Regions from separate parts of the Homo sapiens genome. Here region 1 is linked to region 2. The links are contacts of gene promoters, found by promoter capture Hi-C in blood cells and fetal thymus (Javierre and others, 2016). All regions are on one chromosome and are shown on one strand. The core of a region is centred on a gene start or on the middle of the fragment in contact, and the rest is flanking DNA. Distances in the headings are between cores, read along the strand shown.

Region 1 (7,451 bases), core at 1,915-4,414, 430 kb after region 2:
AGGGAAGCCGGAAGGGAGAGAGCAGAGATAGTGAATGGAGAAGCAGAGGCGAGATTAGAGGCTCAGGGAGGAAGAGAGAGGATTTGAGGCAGGAGGGGAGAAAGAGGAAAGAACGGTGCGCTTTCTCCCACGCTGATGGCCCAGCCCTGTGGCCCAGCCTGGCCCCACCCTACTCTAGCCACCAGACACTTGGCATATAGGATCTCATTTTTAGCCTCACAGTAATAACCTGCAAGCCTCACAAAATAATCTGTATTTCAGCCAGGCACAGTGGCTCACGCCTGTCATCCCAACACTTTGGGAGGCCGAGGCCGGGGGATCGCTTGAGCCCAGGAGTTCGAGACCAGCCTGAGCAACATGGCGAAACTCCATCTCTACTAAAAATACAAAAAGTTAGTCAGGCATGATGGTGCATGACTAATTTGTAGTCCCAGCTACTTGGGAGGCTGAGGAGGGAGGACTGCTTGAACCTGGGAGGTAGAGGTTACAGTGAGCTGAGACTGCACCACTGTACTCCAGCCTGGGCAATACAGTGAGACCCCCGTCTCAATAATAATAATAACCATCATCATCATCCATATTTTAGTAAAAGTGAGAAGATAGTGCTCAGAGAGATTGATGAACTTGCCCTGGGGTTGCCCAGCCAGTGGGTGACAGAGCTGGGAAGCAAACTCAAGTTTCTTTGACTGCATGCCAGGCAGAGCACCTCGGCCACCAACGCTTTTTGTTTGCATGGCAGATTCTGCTGTGCTCGTTCTCCCCACTGCCCTCTGCTCCCTCAGCATCCTGGTGAAGTAGACATCACAATCACACACCACAGATTTGGAAGCTGAGGCTCAGACTAGCCAAAGGCAAGTCCTGGCCAAGGCCAAGGACTGAAACTGGAACACACACCTTGAGACCAAAGGCCAGAGCTTGCCTCACTCTAGGGCACAAATATCAGGTAAGCTGATGGTTCACCGAAAGCACACCAAATTCTGCTGATCCCCAGGAGGAGGTGTCTGGGCCTGGGGATTTGCAGGTCGCCTGCTCCAGCGGTTCCCTGCCAGACCCCAAGGATCCCCTGTCACCCACAGCCGCCTGGAGGGTTCAGAACCTACCTCCAACCCACCCTGGAAAGTGTGACATGCCTAACCCAGTTCAACTCTATAAATAATAACACCAACAATAGCTGTCCTTTGTAGAGTCCTTCCCATGGGCGGGGCAGCATGCTAAGCCTTCACCTGGAGTAACTCAGCAGACTCACTGGAATGAAGTAGATGCTTTTCTCCTCCTTTTAGAAGAGAGGAAACTGAGGCACAGGGAGGTCAGGCAACAAGGTCACATGGCTGGTCAGCAGCTCAGCCTCCACGGCCTGCCCATAACCCCAAGCAGGTACAGTCCTCACTAATACTAACAGCAACAACAATTGCTAAGTGCCCACTGAGGACCCCCTGAGGGAGGGGCTGTTAGCATCCCCCACTTGATAGGAGAGAAAACTGGGGCACAGAGGGGAGTGGCTGGCCCAGGGTCACACCATTGAGGGCAGAGCTGGGATTTGAATCCAGAAAGGGCAGCCCCGGGACCATGCTTTGAGCCGCCTCTGCTCACGCGGTGGCACGGGGGGGCCCCAGGGCATCCTGTGGTTCTCTCCAGCTGTCCAGCAGAAGCGTTTCTGCCCCATTCTCCCCTCCCTTCCTGAGCTCTTGGTTTGCTACTCATCTGGCCTGATCAGCTGGGGGCCTGCCCTCTGGCACCTGCAAGCTGAGCCCCTCCTCCATCAAAGCTGCCTTCTCCCCCACCCTCACAGCACCCCTCTGTGTGGCCCTCTCTCCCGCAGAGCCCTCTCGACGGACTAAAGCAGACTCAGAAGGTCCAAGCTACAAACCCACTGGACAGGTGGGAGGACAGATGCCCCAAAGAGGATGACCTGACTTGCCCAAGGCCACACCCTGCTCCCCTCCCCACTAGACTTAAGCAGCCTGCCCCACAGCCTCCGGTCCCCATCCCAAGCCAGCACGCACATCTCTTCCCCAAATCTCATCCCCAACAACAGCATGGAGTGAGACCTCCTGCCAGTGTCCCAGGAAGAGCTCTCAGCTCCGAGATGCTCTGCCAGCTGGCAGGGCCAGGTCCCCATAGAGGCCACCTGCTACGTGAGAACACAGGGCAGTCACCACCAGGAGGCTCTTGGGCCAGTCTGGCTCAGCAGCTACTGTCTCTTGCCAACTGTATGCAGGACACACCCTGTTAGCTTTAGGCTAGCAGAGCCAACAAGCCCAGATGCCTCAAAGAGCCAGTTCGTTCATTGTCCCTTTCAAGGGACCAGATTTCTTAGGCCGTAGTTCCCAAGCACCAGGTTGTGAACCAGCTACAACGGAATCACTCCTCAAAAATAATAGCTTCCAGGGTCCTGCTCCGAAGAGAGTGTGATCCAACTGGTCCTGGGGAGGGTCTAGGAATCTGTATTTTAACAGCCCTGTTCCCACCCACATCATCCTGGCAAGCAGGCTTCGGAACCTCTCTTTGCTCAGAGCAAGCACTTCACTCACAGAGGGTCAAACTTGGAGGCAGTTTAAAGACCTTCTAGTCTAGCCCACCCATTGTCCAGACAGGAACACTGAGGCTTAGGGGGCTTGTCCTGGGTCACAGAGTGACTCAGTGACAGTGCTATGACCCAAACCCCAGTGTCCCAACTCCTAGACCAGGAAGCTTGCCCTTCTGTTAAGACATTTTGGGAAGATGGCAAGAAAGTCCTTCCAGCTCAGGGCAGGAAGTCGTCCTTGGCACAGAGCAAGACCTTTGTGGAAAATTGGTGGATAGGAATGAAGAACATTGAATTGGGGGCAGATACTGCCTGTTTCTGCCTGTCTCTCCCCCATTCCATGAGGTCCTGGTAGGGCTTAGTCACAATGCTCTACAAAACATAGTCACGGGAACACACACACACTCATGCACATACAGACACACACAGACATACACACACACACACTTCGTGGGTGTGAGATCAGGCCAGGCTGCCCAGAATTCTAATCCCCCTGATCACACTGATTGGCTCAAGAATGAACACCATGGGTTGGGTGTGGTGGCTCACGCCTGTAATCCCAGAACTTTGGGAGGCCGAGACAGATGGATCATCTGAGGTCGGAAGTTTGAGACCAGCCTGGCCAATATGGTGAAACCCCGTCTCTACTAAAAATACAAAAATTAGCTTGGCATGGTAGCACGTGGCTGTAATCCCAGCTGCTCAGGAGGCTGAGGCAGGAGAATCGCTTGAACCCGGGGAGGCGGAGGTTGCAGTGAGCTAAGATCATACCACTGCAATCCACCCTGGGCGACAGAGCAAGACTCTGTTTCAAAAAAAAAAAAAAAAACACCTGACCCAAGAAGATCAATCAGAGATTTGACACCTGAACCCAGCAAGGAAGATCTCTCTTCCTTTTGGGTAATGAGTTATAGGGGTTCGGGGCTACCATTGGCCTTCTTCCCTAACACGTGGAGAAAGGCTTTGTGAGAACACCTGAAGGGACGCAGACTCCAGATACGCAAAACAGATGATGTCCTGACAATAGCATTTGGGCTCCTGGATCTAGCCTTTCCTGAAACTGGGAAACCCTGAGCACCCAGTTATGTGAGCCAATAAACTCACTTTTTGACTTAAGCTTGTTTAAGGTGGGGTTTTTGTCACTTGCAACCAAAACAGTGCTGACTAGGGTCCTGGGACACACCTGTTTGGGGGCAGAAAGTGGGAAGCAGAACATTTCATTGCCCTCAGCCCCTGTGACGGTCTAGGGAGGCCCTTGTCCATAAGGAAGGCATGGGATCTCGGGAGAAGCCACCTGAAGATCACAGGGGCATGTCCTGGACCGAGAGTCAAAACACCTGGGCTCTTTCACTCCCAAGCTGCGTGACCTTCGACCAGTCAACCAACCCCTCCTTTATCAAGCATGCCTTTTATTTTCTGTGTTCTGATACTTTGACATCTGGGGCTTTGTGACCCTGGAGGGTTAAGAGCTGGTAAATTCTTAGAGATAGTAACCAACTTGCCCATGAGCCCATTTGCTTTGAAAATGCAAACCAACCAATCCAGAGTCTATACCAGCAACTACCTCCTTTATTGGCTCTCACACTTTGGACCACTATCCACCTGCCCTGATCACTCCAGGGTCATCTACCAGACAACTAGGGGCAGCCCTTGTGGCCCAGAATGCACTGAAATTATTCAAACTAGCCAACCCTAAGCCGGCTTGCTCTGCCTCATTCGTTCCTTCTCATGGATACCACAATAAATGTTCTTGCCCACGATTTCCCCCTCCCTCTACCTCCTGACTGCCCCTATGTGCCCCCTCATGGCTGGACAAGCCCGCTCCTCTTGGGATCTGTGAGTGTAATAATCTGTCTTTTTTTTTTTTTTTTTTTTTTTGAGGCGGAGTTTTGCTCCTGTCACCCAGGCTGGAGTGCAATGGCGCAATCTCGGCTCACTGCAACCTCCGCCTCCCAGGTTCAAGCGATTCTCCTGCCCCAGCCTCCCAAGTAGCTGGGATTACAGGAGCCCGCCACCATGCCCAGCTAATTTTTGTATTTTTAGTAGGGACGGGGTTTCACCATGTTGGCTAGGCTGCTCTTGAACTCCTGACCTCACGTGATCTGCCCGCCTCAGCCTCCCAAAGTGCTGGGATTACAGGCGTGAGCCACTGTGCCTGGCCACAGACTGTCTTTTCAATGTCAGCTGTCTGCTAATCTGTTGACCTCACCATATCTGGAATCAGACGTGATTGTGTAAAAGCCTTGAAATTACAGAGGGCTCTGCAGATGAGAGAGGGTGCATTCAAACCCAAAGACAGTCCTTCTAGAACACTACCATTAGATTGCCTTTGGAGCAAGTAGAACTGGAATTATCATCCTACTCCTCAGATGGGTAAACTGAGGCACAGCAAGGTTAAATGCCTTGCCCTAAGACTTGCAGCTCGTTTTCCAAAGATCCAGAACTGGAAGTCAAGACAGAAGAAGGTATAATCCAGGCCAGCTGGGGTTAACCAAGGAGTGTGTCTTGGAGGAGGTAGACAGGCGCCCGCCACACACATGCACACCCTGTATGCACACACACCCATGCACACTGTCTCTTTCTGCCAGCCCTGGCTGAATTAAGAATGCATGTGCTGTAGAGGACCGGCTAGACAATTTTCCTGTCACTCCCGCTCCTAGTTTCTCCCACCTCGTCCTTGGACACAACTGGGAATCTCTTTAAGGCTCACAATTGGGCCCTTTCAACTGGCATTGGTTCCACGCCTCACCACGTGACTCCGCCTCTCCCCAAGCTTTTCAGTGGCCACTTTCTCAGCCCAACGAAGCCTGACAAATCCTTCCTGCAAACGTGCATGTCCCGGGCTCAGAATAACCTACCAAAAGAAAATAAAACCCCCATGAAGTGAGTCCAGGTGACTCAAAGCGTTCTGTTGGCAGCAGCATTTCCGGCGTCTGCTTTCTCTCTGGATCACAAACATTTCTCATCTGCTGGAGCCATTCAAGACAAGGCCACAGGCAGCCAAGGAAGCCCATGGCCCTGGAGACCCCAAACAACTGCACTGAAATGATTAGATGCTCCCCATCTTCCTGCCAGGAGTGTGTTGGGGGCCGGGGAAGGAAGACATCTGGTCTTTTGTACAAATAGAGAATAACAACAATCGTAGTAATTGTCAGTACAAAGTTATTGCCACTCACTATATGCCAGCCATTGTTCTGTTAATAGGCACTTTGCATTTCTTAGCTCATTTAGTCCTAACACCAAGTCACTAAGACAATTATTAATACTGTGCCCATTTTACAGTTGGGAACACTTGCAAAGACTGAATCCATCTGACAACCCGTGATCAACACCCTTACATGGCAATGATCAGTGGAGCAGAGAAATGGCTGCCCCTTTAGGTGGGACGCGCTGTTCCAATTTGCCACAGCCCCCACCAGTCCCTGTTATATTACACCCTGTCTGTCTCACCCATTTAAGTCACTTGCTCTGCACCTATGGGTGTCTGAGTTGTCAACCTCTACACTATGCTGCCTCCTCCCTCATACTTCCTTCACTCTCATCTCCTTCTTCAGGAATCAGGATTTGGGGCCTAAATCTGCAGAAAGCTCGACCCTTCCCTTTCCTACAGACTGACTCCTCCAGGAAGCCTTCCCTGCTTAATCACCAACGCTGCAAATGTCTAAGCTGAAAGGATTATTTGAGGTCATTTGGTTCTAACCCGTCAGTTACAGATGAGGATACTGAGGCCCAGAGAGCTAGGAATGCTGCTGTCTGCCTGGTCCTACGCCTAACGGTGATCAAGCCCTGTCCGCCAACAAGGTCAGCATGCCCCTTCCTACCTGTCGGGGAGGTAGGGCTGGGGTTGTTCCCGTGCCCATTTTATGGATGAAGGAACTGAGGCAAGATGCTGGGTCTCTCTTTGCAATGTCTGAGGCTGCTCTCACTTCCGAGGGCTCCCTGACCACGGGCCAAGGCTGTTTGGCCCTCCCAGTATTCCTGATGCTTCCATCAGTCCCTGAGCTCTAGAACCAGGTCTGAGCCCCCTCACCTTTGCCTGGGCACAGGGCCTCAAGGAGCCCTAGCTTTGTGCTGCACCTAAGCCTCCTTGTCTGATATTCTGGCCCTTCGTTCCACCTCCTGCATTTCACATCTGGCCCAGCTACACTGTCCTTCCAGGGGTAGGTGGAGCCTGTATTCTGCTTATTTCCCAACAGAAGAAAGAGCATCCCAGAGAGGCTAAATGTGACCTAAGGTCACACAGGGACTCCTGGCAAAGCTGGCAGCAGCACCTGACCCCAACCCCTGTCTTACCATGTTTTTCTCTCCACTCTGTGACCCATTCTCTCTGCTCAGGCCTCCCTCTGGGGACCCCGACCATCTGGAAGACATTCCTTTTTCTGAGTGGGCAGTAGAGTCTTAGACCCACCCCAGACAGTCATTTTTGTGGAACCTTTGATACACACACCCTGGCAGGACCCTTAGGGTCCCCTCCCTCCTACTTCCAGGACCTGCCTATCTCTGGATAACCCAAGACTGTCTGTACAGCTGTGCAGGTTGCACACTGCTCGCCCAGCACAGCCACTTACTACAGTCCTAATTGTCACTCACTAGGCATCCCCACACATCCTGCACAGTACAGCTGCCAAATGCAGGAAGGGTTGCAGCAGCCTGCCACTCCCGGGCACCAGTGAGCTTCTCCTTCTCCACTCTGCACCTCCTAACCCTCCCACCACCACCTCTGAAGCAATCAGGAGGCCACCAGGACTGGCAGGAAAGGTCCCCTGAGTAGGGGAAATCTTGCTTGGCCATAATTAAACTCCACTGCTGTGCAGGCTGCAGACAAAAAGGAACCCATAATGGGATTAGAATTGTAATAAATTAAAATCATAAATTCAATAAACGCCTTCTTGGCCTCCCTCTGGAAATGGCCAGCCCACAGCAACTG
Region 2 (7,266 bases), core at 3,722-6,221:
AATGCATTACAATTTTAAGAAATTCTCACGTTCTAAATCATTCATTTGCGGTGAAAAAATCTTGTTTGGGCTGTGTGTGGTGGCTCAGGCCTATAATCCTAGCACTTCGGGAGGTTGAGATGGGAAGATCTCTTGAGGCTAGGAGTTCCACACCAGCCTCAACATAGTGAGACTCCGTCTCTACAAAAAAATTTAAAAACAGGCAGGCGTGTTGGTGTGCGCTTGTATTCCCAGCTACTTTGGAGGCTCAGGCAGGAGGACTGCTTCAGCTCACGAGTTCCAGGTTTCAGTAAGCTATATGATTGCACTACAGCACTCCAGGGTGGGTAACAGAATGAGACTATGTCTCTAAAAAAAATAAAAAATAAAAAAAAATTGTTTGGCAATTACCAAGGCCACTTTCCTGGTGGAACTCAGGAAAACAATGGAACAAGAGGGAAAAACCTCTAGGATTCCTTCCCATGTCTACAGAGGATCAGTCCCGCTCCTCACCTGGGCTCCCCGGGCACGGCCCCCCTCCACCTCTCCAGCTTTAGCTTCTGCTGCCATTCTTCTTCCCTTTGACTCTTAGGCCACACTCGACTACTTACATTCTCCCACTAGTCCAAGTCTTTCACATAGCTGCACCTTTGCTTACAACATCCTCTCCCATTCCTGGCTATTTCCTCCTTTTTCTTTAAAACCTAGGTATCACTTCTCTAGAAGGCCCTCCTTGTCCTCTGTGTCTCCCATCCTAGCATGTCACACTGTCCAAGAGTTCAGCTGTCTAACTAGACTGCCAGACACTGGGCCAGAATAATCGCTGGATTGTGCAACTTGAGTGGAGGCTAACAGAGCTATAAAGTCCTGACAGAAATCAGAGAGACTTTTTTTTTTTTTTTACTATATTCCATAATTTAAAACTGACTCTGGCCAGGTGTGGTGGCTCATGCCTGTAATCCTAGCACTTTGAGAGGCTGAGGCTGGAGGATCACTTGAGCCCAGGAGTTCGAGACCAGCCCTGGCAACACAGTGAGACCCCCATCACTACAAAAAAAAAAAAAGAAAAGAAAGAAAGAAAGAAAGAAAAAAAGATAGTTGGGTGTGGTGGTGCATACCTGCAGTCCTAGCTACTCGGGAGGCTGAGGTGGATGGATCACTTGAGACTGGGAGGTTGAGGCTGCAATGAGCCATGGTTGCCCCATTGCACTCTAGCCTGAACAGAGTGAAACCCTGTCACAAAACAAAACAGAACAAAACAAAACAGGACTCTAAGAGAAGGCCTGAGAGAAAAGACTTCTAATAGGTTCAGGACACATTCTTTGATAGAAGTGGCAAATTAGAAAGCTCAGGGAAAAGATGGAAATATCTTCTGTGATGGACTTGGACTTTCAGTTGAGACAGGAATGGGATGGAGTGCTAGAAAGGCAGATATGTGGCCGGGCATGATGACTCACACCTGTAATCCCAGCACTTTGGGAGGCCGAGGCGGGTGGATCAACAGATCAGGAGATCGAGACCATCCTGGCTAACATGGTGAAACCCTGCCTGTACTAAAAAATACAAAAAATTAGCTGGGCATGGTGGCAGGTGCCTGTAGTCCCAGCTACTTGGGAGGCTGAGGCAGGAGAATTGGCGTGAACCCGGGAGGCAGAGCTTCCAGTGAGCCAAGATCGTGCCACTGCACTCCAGCCTGGACGACAGAGCAAGACTCCGTCTCAAAAAAAAAAAAAAAAAAAAAAAGGCAGATATTCAACGGCTGTATAGAGTATGGCAGGCTGTGGTTTTTTCAAAGACTTCAGAAGAAGTGAAATATTCCTTTGAGATACACAATTAAAACTAACAGCAAGGCAGCTTCTTCTGAGATGTATTCATTCCACAAGCTGAGAGTGGGCAGCAGTCTCTCCAACGGGGCATTTTCAAGCAAATGGGATCTGATGCTCCTCTCTGGATAGAAGGAGAGACCACCCCTAGGTGCTCCCCTGCCCTGTGACCCTCAGACTACCTTGGTGCCAGCCCAAGGCAGTGCGGCCCAAACACTGTGAAGTCTTTTGAGAACCTCCAGGTTGAGTACAACCTCACTGACTTTTTTCATTAAGAACAAAAGCTTAATTTTCATAAACACCTTTTCCAGGAGCACCAAGCTAGCCCTCTTTCAACACCAGCAAAATGGAGAAAAGGAAAATCTAAACAGTATCCAACCTAGGTTTTCCAGATTTTGTCAGTTAATTCCCATTTTTAAGGTCACTCTGCTCACTGAAAGGCAGAAGAAGGATTTAAAAGCCTCTTTCAGAGAAGGCAATACCATTTTAGTCCTCCACATCCTTCATGGTTTTCTCTACTGGCTTAGCTGTGCTCAAAACAAGGACTTCTTTTTCCTTCATTTAGATATTCAGAATCTAGGACATCATAAGGTTGTGGATGTTTTAGAAAATAGATAATCTTCTGGCATGAGAAATATCCTTAATTAGCTATTTTTCCTCAAAACTGGAGGGGGGGTGAGTATTGACATTTGGGTAGCTTATGCAATTCAAGAGCTTCTGTCTTCTGTCTTCAAGTATTGCCTTATGTTAGAAATAAGTTTCCAGAAAATAAATGTCAAAGACCAGACACTCATGCTAAAGGCTAGATGCTTCCAATACAAACTTACGAACCTCCTCCTACCTTTCCTAAAAGGGACTGTTACATGGGGTACAAATATGAATGATTAATTTATTTTCTGCCCACATATAAGAATCAATTCATAACACTTTCCTGTTTGGGTGAGCTACTGGGAAGAATAAACAAAAGCTGGCTAGAACTCCACAAAGTTCCACTGTTCTTTTGTGCTTTCTCTGCTGCACTGTTACATGAGAGTTCCAAGGCAGCAGGGTCACGTGGGATGCTATACATCAGTGGTCCCCAATCTTTTTGGCACTAGGGACTGGTTTCGTGGAAGACAATTTTTCTATGGACCAGGGTGGGGGTGGGGAGATGGGGGATGGTTTTGAGGTAAAACTGTTCCACCTCAGATCTTCAGGCAGTACTTAGATTCTCACAAGGAGCACGCAACCTAGATCCCTCACATGTGCAGTTCACAACAGGGTTCACACTCCTGTGAGGATCTAATGCTGCCACCGATCTGACAGGAGGCAGAGCTCAGGCGGTAATGCTCACTCACCTGCCACTCACCTCCTGCTGTATGGCCCTATTCCTAACAGGCCATGGACAAGTACAGGTCTGCAGCCTGGGGATTAGGGACCCCTGCTATACATGACTGTATGGTACATAGCACTTCTGTGGCATGTGGTTTAAGCTCAGTGTCATTTGATGGCCAGGAGATCCACTTGAAAATCCCTATTTTTAGCAGACCTTGTAGGATGCCAATATTTGGGGCCAGAGTCTCGTTACTAAAATGAATGCTATGGAGCTAAGGCTGTGGTGCCCAGCTGGGCTAGACATTTGCAAAAAGAGAGCAGACTGGCAGACAGTGCCAATTCTCAACAGAATCTTTTGATTAGAATGCCAAGTTGCTATAAGGGTATCAGTAACATCCTCACCCTTTAGCAGGCAAAGGAGGCTGGGTATGTGAGAAAACAAACTCTGATCCACCTGATCCTCCACTGCTTTTTGATTCTGAGAAAAAAAAAAATTGTTCAGTAACTCCAGCTGCCTGAACAGAAATTACTTTCTGAGGAGCTAGAAGCCCTGACTGGAAAAGAGCTCTGGGGGATTATGGCATGGGAGGAGAGCTGTCAGGCATCAGGCTTATGTGGGAAGGACCCACGCTGACTACAACAGTACAAGTAACTGCCTGAGTGGCTCCATAACATGGAAACAGCAATCGTATGTTCCAAAGACAGAGTTACTGTTTTAAGGACAGAGGAACCTTTGTATAGATTCTTAGTGAAAAGCTTATTTTAAGGATGTTTGCTGAAACTCCATGTTTTTCACATTTCTTTTCAAAAGAGCATTGTCCTTCATATATAGTACATGAAAAATTACAATATTCATGTTTTTTAGATACAAAGTCATATACAAATAGAGGAGGAATAATTTCAAATTGCAAACCATACCAGCAAAGAAAGAGGGAAATGAGACTCTAGATATGGATTTATTAGGTGACAGGGATTCTTTTCTCTATATTTTAATATATTTTCCAAGTTTTGAACCACGGGCTAAGGATGGGCCTGTTCTCTGTCCTGCCTAGAAACTGACAGAAGCATGGGTGACCAATCCCAGACATGCTTGGCACTGCTGAGTTTTCATCTCTGTTGTAATCTTCTGACACCTCCTTGCAAAATATCAAGTGTTATATGCTAATACTGGCCCTCTCTTTGTTGAAGGAGAAAGCATGTAAAAAGACAACTGTCCAAACCCTGTGGCTACAAAGTCTTTTTTTGGCTTCCTAAGAGATTTACTCTATTCTTCTATTTCTAGAACTTTTCTAAGTTGGAAGATTTCAAATGTGAGATAGTGTTAGATCCAGGTTGAGTAAGGATTTTATAAAATACTAAATAATGATCAGAGATGGGAATAATCAGCCTAGATAAAAGCATATTCAGCAGGATGTCAAAATATACCAGATCCTCATATAAACAGCATGGATTACATTAACAGGCCTCCCTGGGTGAGTAGCGTCTCTTTCGCCTACCTTACGCTCACCCCATGGTTATATAACCTTTTGAACGGAATTTGGAAATTCTTCTGACCCTGTCCTGCTTGCTGATAGAGTTGAGCCAGTGGCTGGCAGGGGCATAATCTAATAGGCGAAACTGGAAACACACAAATTCACAGTCCTCTTGTCTTAGCCCAGAGACTGTACAGGCAAGGAAAGAAAGACTCGCCCCATCTCCCTCCTCCCCTCCTCTGGCCTAAGTTGCCGCTGACTTCACCCAACAGGCACCTGACCCTCCCAGATGAGCTGGGAGGGGCTAAAGCCTGGTGCAGCCATGGTAGGGGTGGAGGTACAGGCAGCAAACAATATTTAAGATGCTGACTTGTGGAGCATTCGGGCTTGGAAGGAAAGCTATAGGCTACCCATTCAGCTCCCCTGTCAGAGACTCAAGCTTTGAGAAAGGCTAGCAAAGAGCAAGGAAAGAGAGAAAACAACAAAGTGGCGAGGCCCTCAGAGTGAAAGCGTAAGGTTCAGTCAGCCTGCTGCAGCTTTGCAGACCTCAGCTGGGCATCTCCAGACTCCCCTGAAGGAAGAGCCTTCCTCACCCAAACCCACAAAAGATGCTGAAAAAGCCTCTCTCAGCTGTGACCTGGCTCTGCATTTTCATCGTGGCCTTTGTCAGCCACCCAGCGTGGCTGCAGAAGCTCTCTAAGCACAAGACACCAGCACAGCCACAGCTCAAAGCGGCCAACTGCTGTGAGGAGGTGAAGGAGCTCAAGGCCCAAGTTGCCAACCTTAGCAGCCTGCTGAGTGAACTGAACAAGAAGCAGGAGAGGGACTGGGTCAGCGTGGTCATGCAGGTGATGGAGCTGGAGAGCAACAGCAAGCGCATGGAGTCGCGGCTCACAGATGCTGAGAGCAAGTACTCCGAGATGAACAACCAAATTGACATCATGCAGCTGCAGGCAGCACAGACGGTCACTCAGACCTCCGCAGGTAAGGAGACCAGTCCCCTGAGGGAGCGTGGAGTGCCTCCCCATCTACAGCACTGCTTCTACATATCCTGGTCATCAGAACCACTACTGGGGCCTCTTTTGTGGGTACACTTTCCCTTTAGTAAAGGCTTATGCAGTATTTCCTTTGACTTCTAATGCTATGTAAGTTTACCTAACACCTTCACGGGTCTCTTTTATCCACACAGTGTTTCAGCCTACCATCTTGGAGTGCTGAGATACTACATGGTTTGCCCAAAGTCACCCAGCAAGTCTTAGAAGCAGGGTTCAAGTCTTCCTGATTGGTGTAGCTCTGCTACTTCCTCACCAAGAGCTGACAGGCTATATCTCAAGAAATTCCAAGGAAGCACCAAACTGTAACAGCTGTTCCTCTGGAAGCAAAGTTTTGCCAGAAACAGTTCTCTGGTGTTCCTAAGATTTACCAGGAATGAGCATTAATGGAATTTTGTGTCCTCTCTCTGTAAACGTAACTCTTCTCATTGGCTCAGAGTTAAGTGTAGAGACACATAACCATGTGAAGAGTCCCTTTGTGTTCAGGAAGGATGCGGCTCCTTAAGGTTCCTCAATTGTGATACGTCTATTTTTTTCCATGGTCTTAAATGAATTTCTCCGAATACAGGATTTTTTAAATGCAATGCTGAAATATAGACTTAATAGGCCAAAAATAAGATAAATTTAATCTTTCTTTTGCAAAATAACTTTTATTTCTGGTTAGCTCAGCTCAGGTGGGCCAACATGAATTTACGGTTTAGAGATAAAAATTTGGTTTTCTGAAATTATCAGGAAAATATTAGTTGTAAGGAGCATATCCTATAGACATGTCATTTCTTGCTGATATAAAAACCATTGGTCCCATTATAAACTACATGAAGAACAAAGACATGATCAGCTTCTACTGACTAAGTCAATGGTTAACCTCAGCTCAAATTAAGAAAAAGTTTTAACATGAAACCAAGCTTGAAAATTCTGTTACCTGAACCAACATGTATCAATCACTTTCTAAGCATGGACTTCCGGGCCCTCAGTTTGGGATTAGAAAGGTATTCTCAGGCCATTTTCCAGACAAGTGAGTCCTGATTTGGTCTGTGAGATGAAACCAGACATGCGGAAGACCAGGCCAGACAGAGGAATCTGACCGTGCCACTTCCTGCTCATCCAAACAGGAGGCTTTCTCACCATCCTGCAAGGAGGTTCTTGGGGTCAAGTGCAGCTCTCCCACCAGGTCTCTTGCTCTTCTTGCCCAGGACATCATTCCTTATTTTTCTTCTCTATGACCAAGTGCTCAGTTACCCTTATATTCTATAAGTAGGTAGTCCCTTAGAGGAAGCAGTAAGTTGGTGCTTTCACCACTAAGACGAAATGAAGAATAGTGATGGCGAAGGCACACGTACTCTACCTCCCTTTCCCAAGGTGCTCTGCAAGAGAACCTATGTGCCTCAGACAACTCCCATCTGCCATCTTGGTGCTCCTCTCTAAGGTCCCAGTGCAGTGGTCACCAAGAAAAGCACCCCGAGACATAGCAGGCAGGAAGCTTCTCTTGGATAGTAAGGGCCGCAGTCTCTGAATCCTATCAGAAAAGGCTGTCTCTTCCACTATGCTCTTTGATATTTAGAATACAGAGCTTAAATCCTGCATAAAGTAGCAGCTCCATGGCCCTAGAGTAAAAAAACTGGCCAG

The links. Contacts are between HindIII fragments. The CHiCAGO score rates a contact against its expected background, and 5 or more counts as called.
Region 1: a contact is called between a fragment that was not itself captured here and the fragment with the promoter of ANGPTL7 in region 2, in 1 of 17 cell types (M1 macrophages). The highest score is 5.0, in M1 macrophages.

The regions. Positions count from the first base shown.
Region 1 is chr1:11,615,338-11,622,788 of GRCh38, forward strand. No RefSeq gene overlaps it. Among named protein-coding and RNA genes, the nearest start is that of LINC01647, 9.5 kb to the left of the region's middle. The HindIII fragment of the contact is 950 bases long and covers 2,690-3,639 here.
Region 2 is chr1:11,184,384-11,191,649 of GRCh38, forward strand. It overlaps ANGPTL7 (angiopoietin like 7), which reads left to right and starts at 4,972. Exons shown (of 5, transcript NM_021146.4): 1 at 4,972-5,572. The coding sequence starts at 5,197. All of the region lies in intron 28 of MTOR (mechanistic target of rapamycin kinase), which reads right to left. RefSeq lists an enhancer at 5,325-5,825. The HindIII fragment of the contact is 1,155 bases long and covers 3,871-5,025 here.